Regions from separate parts of the Homo sapiens genome. Here region 1 is linked to region 2. The links are contacts of gene promoters, found by promoter capture Hi-C in human tissues and cell types (Jung and others, 2019). All regions are on one chromosome and are shown on one strand. Each heading gives the region's core, a stretch centred on a gene start or on the middle of the fragment in contact. The rest is flanking DNA. Distances are from core to core; before and after follow the strand shown.

Region 1 (7,107 bases), core at 1,755-4,254, 96 kb after region 2:
GAAAAGCCATGGAGCAACGAGGTGCTTTCTCGAACCCCGAGGCCCTGCATCTGTACTGGGACATCCCTGAGCTGAATGGCTTCTGAGTCGGACTGGCTGGCACAGGGAGGATGGAAACCTTGAATGGCCTGGCGCAGGAGTCCCTGGCTTGCAGGCAAGCTGTGCTTAAGGGCTGCCGGTGGGAACTGGCACCTGAAAGAAGGCATTTGAAGAGGGAGGTGGTGGGTGCTCCTGCCTCACCCAGGCTGGGGTGGAGGGAACTGCAGTTTTGGTAACGACTCCTGGGTCCTCTCTGTGCCTGTTGCTAAGGCTTTTGTCCGCTGGGCTGTCTGGTGGCTAAAGGATATGGCTTCTACTGTGTGGTCTGCCGAGCTGTCCTTTTGCAACAGGGCCTGAGACCACTGACTTCAGGGGCTGGAGTCACAGTTGTGTGGGCTTTGGGCTGGGTTCTGCTGAGCCCTTGGGGCCTAGCCATTTCCTGCCAATAATAGCTAACACTGCTGTAGTACATACCATATGCTGGGTGCTGTTCCAGGGCCACGATCCTGAGTATAACCCTAGAAGGTAGGTGTCATCATTATCCCTATTTGGAAGATGGGGAATAAGGCCCAAGTTCAGGGAGCTTGCCCAAGGTCACATGGGCTAGGGCCAGCCCTTTTGGAAAGAGTTCCCAAGAAGGATAGTGAGACTCCCTCTTTTGATATCGTGGGTACTTCCTGAATATCTAGATTGATCAAAAAAATCATACCCCAGTGAAGAAGATCAATTACGTGTACATTTTCCAAGTCACTTTGACATTGTCACAAACTCACATGCTTGAGCCTCTAATTCGATTTTGAGTGAGAATCATTTCATGTGTCATGAAATTTCAAAAGACAACGTTCAATGAATGGTACTTCCCATTATTCCAGCTTGATTGAAATTGTGGGTTTCTAAAAAGATACTATTTATACTTTTAAGACAATGGAGCTTTCAAAAGGTTTCTGACTCTTAAGTCTTCTTATGTGATTTCTAAGGAAGTGGAAATTTTCAAATTTTCATTATGAATGTGTCTTTATGGCTTTCCTTCTTTTCCTTTGTTCTTTCTTTACATATCCTGACTCGACAGTGTTTCTCTCGCCCTTGATGGGAGCTTCAGGTTCTTGCCAAAGTATGTATCACATAATTGCTTTCATGTTCAGACACGGCAAGAGTGGGTTGTAAATGACTGCGACGCCGATGTCACAATTCTGTTAGGCCTGGTTGACCTTGCAAATTGAATTCAGGGAGGGCAGTGCTTCTATCTGGCTGCTAGATTTATTGTTCCCAGTCTGGGGAGAGGCCTGGGGAGGCGTGGTATGGGATTTCTGTGCCTAGGCAGCCACTCCAGCTTGTCCTGTGCTGCCTCCCTCCTTTCCATCTTGGTGTCTTCCTCAGCTCTCGAAACAGAAGGCAGCAGCCCATGATTGATGGGCTCCGGCCCGCTGGGGTGTTATTAACCACTCTGTCAAGGTGACAATGTCATTTTTAATGTTCCATCTTCAGACTTGAGGCTTATTCTTAGGTTGAGAGTTAGCCAACCTTGACAGAGATAGAACCCCTAAAAGTTTAAGACGTGGTTCTTGACCCTGGCTGCTGGGGAGCTTGCAACAATACCGGTTTCCATGAGGGTACCTTCTGGGATGCAGGAAATGTTAGATGTCTTTATCCACGTGGTGGTTACTTGAGTTCATATATGTGTAGCAAAAACTTGGGCTTTGGTGAGGATATGGAGAAACTGAACCCTGGTGCCTTACTGGTGGGAATGTAAATTGGGGCAGCTGCTGTGGAAACACACTGGTGGCTCCTCAAAAAGTTAAACATGTAATTACCCTGTGAGCCAGGAATTGCACTCCTAGGTATATACCCAAAAGAACTGAAAGCAAGGACAGAAGCAGATGCTTGTAAGCTAATGTTTGTAGCAGCGTTATTCACAACCACCAAAAGGTGGAAACAACACAAGCATTTGCTGATGAATGGTTACTGTTCTGTCCCTACAATAGAATGTTATTCAGCCACGAAAAGGAATGAAGTTCTGACACACACTGCAATGTGTATGAACCTTGAACCCATTATCGTGACAGACACTGGTCACAAAATGACAAATACTGTATGATTCCACTTACATGAAATACCCAGAATAGTCACATTCACAGGGACAGAAAGTAGACCAGAGCTTATTCAGGGAAGGGGAGAGAGAAGGAATGGGGAGTGAATATTTAATGGGTACATAGTTTTAGTTTGGAATGATGAAAAGTTTCTAGAAATGGATGGTGGTGACTTTTGCATAACACTGTGAATGTACTTAATGCCACTGAACTGTACACTTAAAAATGGGTGGAGTGGCAAGTTTTACGTTATGTATATTTTACCATAATAAAGATATTTGAGATGTACAGTTAAAATTTTTGCTGTGGACTATAAATGTATGTTTTACCTGAATTGTAAAATCTGATTTCTAGGCCCTACTCCTAAGGATTCTGATTTTTTTTTTTTTTTTTTTTTTTAAGACAGAGTCTGACTCTGTCACTCAGGCTGGAGTGCAGCGGCATAATACCGGCTCACTGCAACCTCTGCCTCCCAGGTTCAAGAGATTCTCGTGCCTCAGCCTCCCGAGTAGCTGGGATTGCAGGTGTGCACCACTTGTCCAGCTAATTTTTGTATTTTTAGTAGAGATGGGGTTTCACCGTGTTGCCCAGGCTTGTCTCGAACTCCTGACTTCAGGTGATGATTTTAATAGTTGGGAGAAAACTCTGGGCATCATTATCTTTAAAAACTTTAAAAACTTACCATGAGGAATTTATAGTTGAGGAAAAGAGGCAAAACTTAGGCATGAAAACCCCTCAAGAATAAGAATTGTGGAATCAAGGCTGGGCCATGTGCTGTATGAAGGCCAATGAGTTGTGAGTGGAAGGGACGTATCATTTTTACGTCACAGGTCTTAATTGCTGATGTAAGAGTCTCCAAAGCTCTCTTTTCCCTTTGGTCATGTTTGACATGGGGGCTGCTCTGTCCCCCTGGTCCTGAGTGATACAGGTTCTGACACTGGGCCTGGAATGATGAGTGGGATTGAAGGAGTATAGGAATTGAATGATCCTATGTAACATAAGTGGGGCAACAGTGTCACGGAAACTCATACATGGGGAAAGCTTTGTGAGTTTCTTGGGCTTTTCCTCATGGTCACAAGATGGCTGCTGCAGCTCCGGCACCACATCCTCAAATACTTAAAGCAATGAGGCAGCCAGTGCAGTGAGAAGTCTCTTTGAAGCCCGTTCTTATTTGACCAGGGGGAAGTTTCTCCCCAGAAAGATTGTCAGCAGCCTTCTCCTCCGACTCATTGGCTAAGAACTGTATCTCATGGCCACCGCTAGCTCTAGAGGAAACTGGGAAGCAAGTATCTGTATTCCTTTCCTTTACTTTCTGTGTTTTGATATAATTTCAAATTAAAGTTTCAAAAATAGCACTAACAATTCTAGATAATCTTCACTCAAACTGCCCAAATGTTGGCATTATGTGACATTTGCTTAATCCTTTTCTCTCTCCTTACGTACACACACATACACACGTACTTATGTGTATTTTTTTTCTAAATGGTTTGAGTCAACTGCACACACAATGTGCCTTTGTCCCTAAATACTCTATTGTGAATTCCTGAAAACAAGGATATTCTCACCAGGCACAGTGCCTCATGCCTGTAATCCCAGCACTTTGGGAGACTGAGGCAGGCAGATCATGAAGTCAGGAGTTCGAGACCAGCTTGACCAACATGTGAAGCCCCGTCTCCACTAAAAATACAAAATTAGCCGGGCATGGTGGCACATGCCTGTAATCCCAGCTTCTCAGGAGGCTGAGACAGGAGAATTGCTTGAACCCGGGAGGCAGAGGTAGCAGTTAGCTGAGATCGCGCCACTGCACTCCAGCCTGGGCGGCAGAGCAGCAAGACTTCGTCTCAAAAAAAAAAAAAAAATTCTTTTTTAGCTATACTTTCTAAGAATCTCTTGGTGTCAGGCTCCCAGAGAACCCCACAGAATATAGACAGTAATGGATGGCATTGTCTACCCTCAGTGAACTTCTTGCCCAACAGGAGGGAAGGAACAAGTATTTCTTGTTCATGTACTACATGTCAAGCCTCGAGTTAGCCACTCACATTCACTCTCTCCTTCAAATTAGCATATCAGCTCTGGGAGGCCAGTGCTGTTACCTGGATAATGATTTAGGGGGCTTTGTTCCTTTCAAACCAGAGGAACCATTCATAGCTTTCTCCAATTCCTGGGTCGGCCTCTCCTCACCTCACTTGAGTATGGTTGTTTTAAAAAAGAATCTGAAATATTTTTTATCAGGTGTTTCAAGGAGCTAATTATGAACTTCACTGTAATTGTTCATTAGTTATATTTTGTTCAGTTACCTTAGCAATTTGCCAAATGGAGCACAAAGCTGGCCTTGCTGCTTTCCCTGGGGCTGCTGGTTTCTTGCCTTTGCTGCCGTCTGTGTCTCTGCTTTTTTTCCTTCTCCTTGAAGTGAATTCTATGGGCCTGAACCCAGTGCTCCACTCCCTTTGTTGTGAGGTGAGTTCCCAGGCAGTGTTCTAGCAGGCTTCTCATCTGTTTCAGTCGCAGAGACCTTGGGACAGTTAGTCTCTGCCAAACCTCCTACAGGCCAGGGCTTGCTGACCACAGGCACGTGCTGCGGTCCGTGATGGCGGGCATGCTCGCACTGCGTCTGGAGGTTGGGCACTGCCTCTTGGCTTCTGCTGTTGGGAGCTCACATCAATGGTGGCCACACCCCCGATCCATCATACCTGGCCTACAAAGGAGAAAGCCACAGACCTTCTAAGGATGCAGGTGTTCCCCCCATGAATGTATTTCTCAACACCTTAGTAAAGAAGGCATTTTCTGGGGTCTCCTGGGGGATGTAGTTGGTGGGTAGGCGTGCAGGTTGCCGTGGTAAAAATCCTTTCAACATTTCGTCTCCCTAGGCCTTCAGATTCCCTCCTCCAACCATGCCAGGGCAGCTCTGGCATCTCTGCCCACTCATCTTAGGCCACCATGGAGTCCTAGTTCCAGCCACCAACCAAATAAGCTTTGAGAGCCACCTCCAGTTAAGCAAACTAACACGTGATATCCAAAATCTTAGTGTACCTAGGTCAGGGAGTTCAGTCTACTGTAGGTCATGTTCTTCTGCCTGCCTTGGTCTGACACGCTCACACACTCCCTAGGTTTCTGCCAACATAGATTGGCAACATCTTGCAGTTCTCTTGGTGTAAAAGCAATCTCATTCTAGGCCATAGTGGGTACTAAAAATCTAAGATCCTAGTTGTGAGTCTGGTGCCAACTGGTGGTAGTTGTGGTGGGTCTGAAGGAGAATAGGCATCTCCTCATGTGAGATTGTCATACAGTTTTCAAGAAAAGGGCAGCTAGTCTCCTTAGACACAACAGAGCAAGCTCCTTCGTTTGGCAAAAGAGGCTCAGAGTGACTTGTGGATTCAAGATTCTCAGTTTCATCTGAGTCCCACCAGATGTCCCCATTCTAAGCTTCAGCATCCTCTTTTTCAATTTTATCTATTTTATTTTTTTTTGAGACAGAGTCGCCCAGGTTGGAGGGCAGTGGTACGATCTTGTCTCACTGCAACCTCCGCCTCTGAGGTTCAAGCAGTTCTCAGAGACAGGGTTTCACCATGTTGTCCAGGCTGGTTTTGAACTCCTGACCTCAGGTGATCCACCCAGCTCAGCCTCCCACTGTGCTGGGATTACAGGCGTGAGCCATGGCGCCCAGTGGGTCTGGATTCTTTTTAAGTCTGATAAGAAACATTTACAATCTATTTTCTCCGAAGCCTACTACCTGGAGGCTTCACCTGCGTAATAAAAACCTTGGTCTCCACAACCCCTGAACCCAGACCCTCTGTTCTGTTGATTTCAGGTCTTTAGATAATGATTTAACTCTTTCAACCAACTGCCGATCGGGAAATCTTTGAATTCATCTATGACCCGGAAACCCCCCAACAACCCGCTTTGAGATGTCCCACCTTTCCGGACTGAACCAATGTACATTTTACATATATTGATTGATGTCTCATGTCTCCCTAAAATGTGTAAAACCAAACTGTAGCCTGAACACTTTGGGCACAGGTTCTCAGGACTTCCTGGGGCTGTGTCACGGGTCATGGTCCTCACATTTGGCTAAGGGTAAATCTCCAAATATCAGAATTTGACTCTCTTCATCGACAATTTCCAGCACCAAACAGGAACCTGGTTTTCCCTGAGCAGCTTTCCTGTGTTGCTCTCACTCTACTCTAAGTGAGCTCACACTTACCTGGGTCACCATAGTTCTTTTTTGTTTTGTTTTGTTACGAGATGGAGTCCTGCTCTGTCGCCCAGGCTGGAGTGCAGTGGTGCAATCTTGGCTCACTACAACCTCTGCCTCCCAGGTTCAAGCAATTCTTATGCCTAAGCCTCCCAAGTAGGTGTGATTATGGGCACACCTCACCACACCTGGATAATTTTTGTATTTTTAGTAGAGATGAGGTTTCGCTATGTTGGCCAGGCTGGTCTCAAACTCCTGACTTCAGGTGATCCGCCCACCTCAGCCTCCCAGAGTGCTGGGATTACAGGCGTGAGCCACTGTGCCCAGCCCAATTGTTGATGTTTTTGAGATAGGGTCTCTCTCTGTTGCCCAGGCTGGAGTGTGGTGGTGCAGTCTCTACTCACAGCCTTGATCTCTGGGCTCAGGTGATCCTCCCACCTCAGCCTCCCGAGTAGCTGGAATTACAGGCATGCACCACCACACCTGGCTAATTTTTGTATTTTTAGTAGAGACAGGGTTTTGCCATGTTGCCCAGGCTGGTCTCAAACTTCTGAGCTCAAATGACCCACCCGTCTCAGTGAGTCAATCCTTAGAATCCAAAGTTCTGGGATTACAGGTGTGAGTCACCATGCCCAGCCTGTCCACTGTAGTTCTAATCCATACCAGAAATGCGGAGGGGACGTCAGTGGATCACACCTTGAGAAACTGCTGTAAACAGTGTGAAATCATCAATAGAATTTACTTTTAAGGGCAAGGATTACCTATTATTAACCTTTTCGTATATCCTAT
Region 2 (6,602 bases), core at 518-3,017:
GCACTATTGCTATCCCATGAAACCCTTCCTGCCGCTAGCTGAGGGGTCTTCTGTGTCCTGCGAGTCAAGCGACCTCTCCAACTCTGTTCACTCTCGTCTCAACTAGAAAGGGTGGCCTCCTCATTCCCACTACACAAAAATGAAAACGGTCTACAATAGATTTCAAGACAGTGATACAAGCAAAGAATATGATTCACAAAGTTAAGAGGGACAAAAAACTAACAACGATGCGTTGGAGAAGCCTGGGGAAGGGGTGGTGTTATGAGGATTCTCAGGGGTGAAAAGAGAAAGTATTCCTGCGAAGGACAGGAACGGAGACATGGGTGAGTGGAGGAGGCAGGGATTTTTCCCACGTGTGTACGTTTGCTCTTAGTGACAGACAGACTTGTGGTATCTTACTTGTCAAACTAGTCACACAATGGATGAAGATTCGTGAACAAACTGTTAATTAAAAACCACTAGACACGGGTGGGGAGGGTGGGTGGTCCTCCCTACAGAATCCACCAGTCATGAGGGCGGACCAGCTCCTCCAAGAGAAAAGGACTTGGGCTCCATCCTGGCTGGAGATGGTCCCGGGTGAAGAACTCCAGTTAGTGGGGAAAATCCATCCACTGGGATCTGGGAGGGCAATGAGCTCACCTGGGGCCTCGCTTCCCGCTGCCCAGCAGCCATGTCCTCTTTCTGGCTCTCCCGGGAGGACGGCGCAGTCTCCAGAAGGCAGATCTGAGAAGAAAAAGGGAGCCAGGAAGAACCCCTTCTGCTTTCCAGCCCTGGAATCCGCAGCTCTAAAACCCCGACTCCCGCTGAGAAGGACCCCGCGCGCCCTCACAGGGATTCGGGAGGAGCCAGGAGCCCGCGGACCAGAGCAGCGCTGGGCCGCCCGGCCAGGCCCAGGCCCCACAGGCTTGGGGCTTACGGAGGGGACGCTGGACCCGCAGTGGCAGCAGCGACCCGCTGAGCCCACCAGGGCCAGGGCTCGCCCCACGCCGCTGAGTTCCTCGGCGCCAGCTGGCACTGCCAGCACCCACTGCACCGCTCAGGAAACTGAGGCAGCGCCGGGGCACCTGCCCCGTTCACGCCGCTGCGAGGCGGGCCGGGACTCCCACCACGACGGCCCCGGGACGACTTCCCTCCGCCTCAAGCCTTTCCCAGCCGGTTCCTCTCTCTCCCGCCAACGAATCGTCTCCCGACTCCACGGAAAACGGCTTTGAAGAGGAAAGCGCTGGGTGTCCCGAGGCAGGAGGAGTGGCCGTCCTGGGGACTGACTCAGAAACCGGGCCCGGCTGCCTCTGCCCTGCGCTCGGGGTCCCGGCGCCCCGAGTCCGCGAGGCCCACACGGCGCGCGCAGGGTGGGCCCGGGAGGAAACGCCTGGCCCCGCGTTCACGGCGGGCGGCGCGAGCCAGAGGCAGGGGCGTCGGCAGCGGCACCGGAGCGGCCCGTGAGGGGCGAGAGTCCAAGTCCTGGCGCGGGGGCCGGTGACAGACGCGGGGGTGCCCCCCCGCGCCCACAGAGGCCCTCGGAGCCCCGCGGCCTCAGGTCGCCCTGGCGCCAGGCGCCGCCTCCTCCCGGCACAGCCAGCCATGCCGCTCACCTCCCCAGGATCCCGCGTTCCCGGGCCGCGCCTCCCCGCCGCACTCTGCAAGCAGGAAGCTCCAGCCTCGTGACCCGGCTCCTCCGACGTCTGGGCGACCTCAAGCCCGGCGCCGCTCACCGGGCAGCGAAAGCTCCGCAGAGCGCCTGGGACCTAGAGGAGCAAGGCGGCCGCTAAGGCCTCTAGGAAATGGAGTCCACGGGAGGACGCTGGCTTTCTGGGAAGTGTAGTTCCACGCGTTTGAGGCGAGGTCGCAGCTGAGCTGTTAGGCGCCCAGACCTATGAGAGGGCCCGGGTGAGCTGTAGAGCCCCGGGTTCCTGGTTCTTCGGAAGAGAAGGGGAGGTTCCCGGAGGGCAGTAACTTGCAACTCTGTGTGTGAATTTCAGGATGGCGTGGGCGGCACGAAAACAACTACTACACAATTGGGAAAGGAAAATCCCCTGCAAAAGATGTTGACAAAGCTGGATTTCCACGTGCAAAAGATGAGCCTGTACCCTGACCGTACACCATACATAAAAATTAACTCAAAATTGATTAAAAACCTAAATGTGAGACCAAATTATTTTATAAATTACTAAAGTAAAAAGGGAAAAAACTTCAGGATGTTGGAGATGGCAATGATTTCTTGAATATGACATCAGAAGCACAGATAACAGCAAAAATAGACAAATGGGACTACATCAAACTTAAAAACTTTGGCTAATCAAAGGAAACAAAGGCAATCTACAGAATAGACGAAAATGCTTACATATCATATATCTGATTTGCAATGTATCCTGGATTTATATGGAACTTTTACAACTCAACAACAATAACAAAACCAAATAACCTGATTTTAAAATGGACAAAGGACTTGAATAGGCAATTCTCCAATGAAGATATACAAATGAGCAATGAGCAACAAGCATATAAAAAGATGGTAAACATCTCTAGGTATAAGAGAAATATAAACCCAAACTCAATGAGAAATCACTGCACCTCCATTAGGATGGCCACTATCAAAAGGATGTAAATTGGTACAATCATTACAGAAAACGGTATAGAGGTTCCTCAAAAAATTATAACTAGAGCTACATTAGGATCCACCAATCCCATTTCTGGCTATAGATCCAGAGGAAGTGAAACTCCGTGAGATACCTGCACTCCCATGTTAGCTGCAACATTATTCACCATGGCCAAGATATGGAAACAACTATCTGTTGATGGATGAATAGATAAAGGAAATGTTTTGTTTGTTTGTTTGTTTGGGACGGTGTCTTGCTCTGTCACCCAGGCTGGAGTGCAATGGCGCAATCTTGGCTCACTGCCACCTCCGCCTTCCAGGTTCAAGCAGTTCTCTGCCTCAGTCTCCCAAGTAGCAGGGATTACAGGCACCCGCGACCACGCCCAGCTAATTTTTGTAGTTTTAATAGAGATGGGGTTTCACCATCTTCACCAGGCTGGTCTTGAACTTCTGACCTCGTGATCCACCCTCCTCGGCCTCCCAAAGTGCTCGGATTACAGGCGTGAGCCACCGAGCCCGGCCACAATGTGTTTATATACACAAAGGAATATTATTCTGCCTTAAAAAAATAAAGAAATCCTGACATATGTGACAATATGGATGAACCCGGAGGACATTATGTTAAGTGAAATAAAGAAGGCACAGAAATACAAATACTGCATTATTTCATTTACACGTAGAATCTAAAATAGTCAAAATCATAGAAGAAAGTAGCATGGTGATTTCCCTGTGTGTTAATTACCAATCTTCCCATATAGGTAATTCCATATGGCACAACTGTCCCTTACTTGTAGAGCCACGCCCACCCTGTTGCCATGAACTGCAGGTGTCCTTCCATGGTTGCTTGCCCAGTGCAAGGCCCTGTTATCTCTCTCTACACTACTCTACACTTCCACAAGCTGCTGCTTCTGTTTTTTTTTGTTGTTGTTGTTGTTGTTTGTTTTTGTTTTTGAGAGACGGGGTCTCACTATGTTGCCCAGGCTGGTCTCAAACGCCTAGGCTCAAGTGATCCTCCCGCCTCGGCCTCCCAAAGTGCTGGGATTACAGGCGTGAGCCACTATGCCTGGTGTAAAAAAGATTTTTTAACAAAAATGAGATGTTTTATTGTCTTCTCTTTGCAATTAGAGTGAAAGCCAGAATCCTTGTTGTGGGCCCTAAACCATATGGCTTTTGACTCCTTTTCCAGTATCTACTGTTTTTCTTCTACACTCTGCTTCTCAGCACAAAGCCGAATGTGTTGCTGTCTTCCATAAAAATCCTTCCTCCAGTCGGGTGTGGTGGCTCACACCTGTAATCCCAGCACTTTGAGAAGCTGAGGCAAGTGCATCACTTGAGGCCAGGGGTTTGAGACCAGCCTGGCCAACATGGTGAAACCCCGTCTCTACTAAAAATACAAAAACTAGCCAGGCGTGGTGGGGCACGCCTGTAATCCCAGCTACTCAGGAGACTGAGGCAGGAGACTCTCTTGAACCCAGGAGGGCAGAGGTTTCAGTGAGCTGAGATTGTACCACTGCATTCCAGCCTGGGCAACAGAGCGAGACTCTGTCTCAAATAAATAAATAAACAAATCCTTTCTCAGCTGGGCACAGTGGCTCATGCCTGTAATCCCAGCACTTTGGGAGGCCCAAGTGGGTGGATGACCTGAGGTCAGACCAGGCTGACCAACATAGTGAAACCCCATCTCTACTAAAAATACAAAATTATCCAGGCGTGGTGGCACATGCCTATAATCCCAGCACTTTGGGAGGCTGAGGTGGGACAACTGCTTGAGCCCAGGAGTTTGAGACCAGCTTGGGCAGCATAGTGAGATCCTGTCTCTACAAAAAAAAAAAAATTATGAAAATTAGCTGGGCATGATGGCACACTCCTGTGGTCCCAGCTACTTGGGAGGCTGAGACAGGAGGGTTGCTTGAGCCCGGGAGGAGGAGATTGCAGTGAGCTGAGATTGTGCCACTGCACTCCAGCCGCCTGGGCAATAAAGCAAGACCAGATCTGTCTCATATAAATACATACATACATACATACATATATATATACACCCCAACCCTCAAAAGCCAACAGCCAACAATGATGTAAAAAATTAAAAACTCAACCGGGCACAGTGGCTCACGCCGGTAATCCCAGCATTTTGGGAGGGTGAGGCGGGCAGATTACTTGAGGTCAGGAGTTCGAGACCAGCCTGACCAATATGGAGAAAACCCGTCTCTACTAAAAATATAAAATTAGCCGGGCATGGTGGCACACGCCTGTAGCCGAACTACCCGGGAGGCTGAGGTGGGAGGATCGCCTGAGCCCAGGAGGTTGAGGCTGCAGTGAGCCATGATCGTGCCATTGCACTTTAGACTAGGCAGCAGAGTGAGACCCTGTCTCAAAAAGAAAAAACAAAAAACCAAATTTGTACTTCTGCTCTGGGGAAAACAGACATGTATTTCCCTACTCTTTTCACTAAACACACTACAAATCTTCACTATTGTATCTAAAACAAACATAAGAAAACTCTGAAAAGTAGAGAGAAGCAAGCCACTGGCAATGGCACTCAGTCAGACTCAAGTGACAACATGGTGATGAGTTCTCTGGGTCTCTGTTTACCTCATATATCCTAGTCTTGGAAGCAAAGAAGCTGGCAACTCAGAAATGCAAATGGGCACACAAAAAGCACCCCCCAAAAGTCTCCATCCTCTCTCTAGCCAAAAGACCAGGAAAGGGACAGCCTATCACGACAGTACACAGTAACTGCTTTACTCCAGTCAGAACTGCAGAAAAACCATGTCCACACCCCTACTATGCCAACAGAAATGGAAGAAGGGCCTAGACTTCCATCTCTGCCAGGAAGAAAGGAGGGCAAATGCAATAGGCTTCCCTTCTCCTCTTGAGTCTTCTAAATTGTGTTTGATAGTGGAGGCAAAAATTATAATTGTCCTGTGGGTCTAAATACACATAGAGGGGCTGGGTGCAGTGGCTCACGTCTGTAATCCCAGCACTTCGGGAGGGCGAGGTGGGCGGATCACTTGAGGTCAGGCGTTTGAGACCAGACTGACCAACATGGTGAAACCTTGTCTCTACTAAAAATACAAAAATTAGCCGGGCGTGGTGGTGTATGCCTGTAATCCCAGCTACTCGGGAGGCTGAGGCAGGAGAATCACTTGAACCTGGGAGATGGAGGTTGCAGTAAGCTGAGGTCACGCCATTGCACTCCAGCCTGGGCATCCCAGCGAGACTGACTGTCTGGAAAAAAATAAAAGTAAAAAATACCACTCTGCGTTCTGGTTCTGGTCTGGCATGTAAGAAGCTTAGAAATCTCCACTCCTGGCCGGGTATGGTGGCTCATGCCAGTAATCCTAGCAGTTTGGGAGGCCCAGGTGGGTGGACTGCCTGAGCTCAGGAGTTCGGGACCAGCCTGGGAAACACGGTGAAACCCCGTCTCTACTAAAATACAAAAAACTAGCTGGGCATGGCGGTGGGCGCCTGTAGTCCCAGCTACTTGGGAGGCTGAAGCAGGAGAATCACTTGAACCAGAGAGGCGGAAGTCACAATGAGCCAAGATCGCACCACTGCACTCCACCCTGGGTGACAGAGCGAGACTCCGTCTCCAAAAAAAAATTAAAAAAAGAAATCTCCACTCCTGAAAGAGAGATTAAGATCAACAACTCTTCTGAAACAGATTTGTAAGAGATGTGAGGATACAGGACCACTCTCTGCCCTCTCCAAAATGAAGAGAGGACAGGTGAATACAGACAGCCACAATTTACTGGAACAGAAACTTAGGAGCTGAAACATGGGGAACCTGTGCCAGGCAGGGAAACCAGAACTGTAACTGACGACCTGCTGGAGACTCAGTGTGGAAAAGTCTCAGATGAAAACTCCAGGAGGACCCAGGTACTGGGTGGGGGTCCCTACGCTTTCGTGAATTTTACCTGCTGGAGCTCAGCCAGGTTCTCACAGTAAAGATCTGAGAAAAAATCCCAGATTTTTGTGTGTCTGGCAGGGAGAAGGGAAATAAACATTT

What was found. Contacts are between HindIII fragments. The study calls those that stand out against the background at their distance.
Region 1: a fragment that was not itself captured here is called in contact with the fragment with the promoter of ZNF354B in region 2 in 2 of the 25 tissues and cell types used here (liver and spleen).

What each region holds. Positions count from the first base shown.
Region 1 is chr5:178,760,177-178,767,283 of GRCh38, reverse strand. It overlaps the pseudogene AACSP1. Among named protein-coding and RNA genes, the nearest start is that of ZNF354A, 33 kb to the right of the region's middle. The HindIII fragment of the contact is 4,639 bases long and covers 685-5,323 here.
Region 2 is chr5:178,855,118-178,861,719 of GRCh38, reverse strand. ZNF354B (zinc finger protein 354B) reads right to left here and starts at 1,767. Exons shown (of 5, transcript NM_058230.3): 1 at 1,593-1,767; 2 at 640-723. The coding sequence starts at 672. RefSeq lists silencers at 1,201-1,280, 1,361-1,560 and enhancers at 1,701-1,900, 1,185-1,917. The HindIII fragment of the contact is 12,564 bases long and covers 1-6,602 here.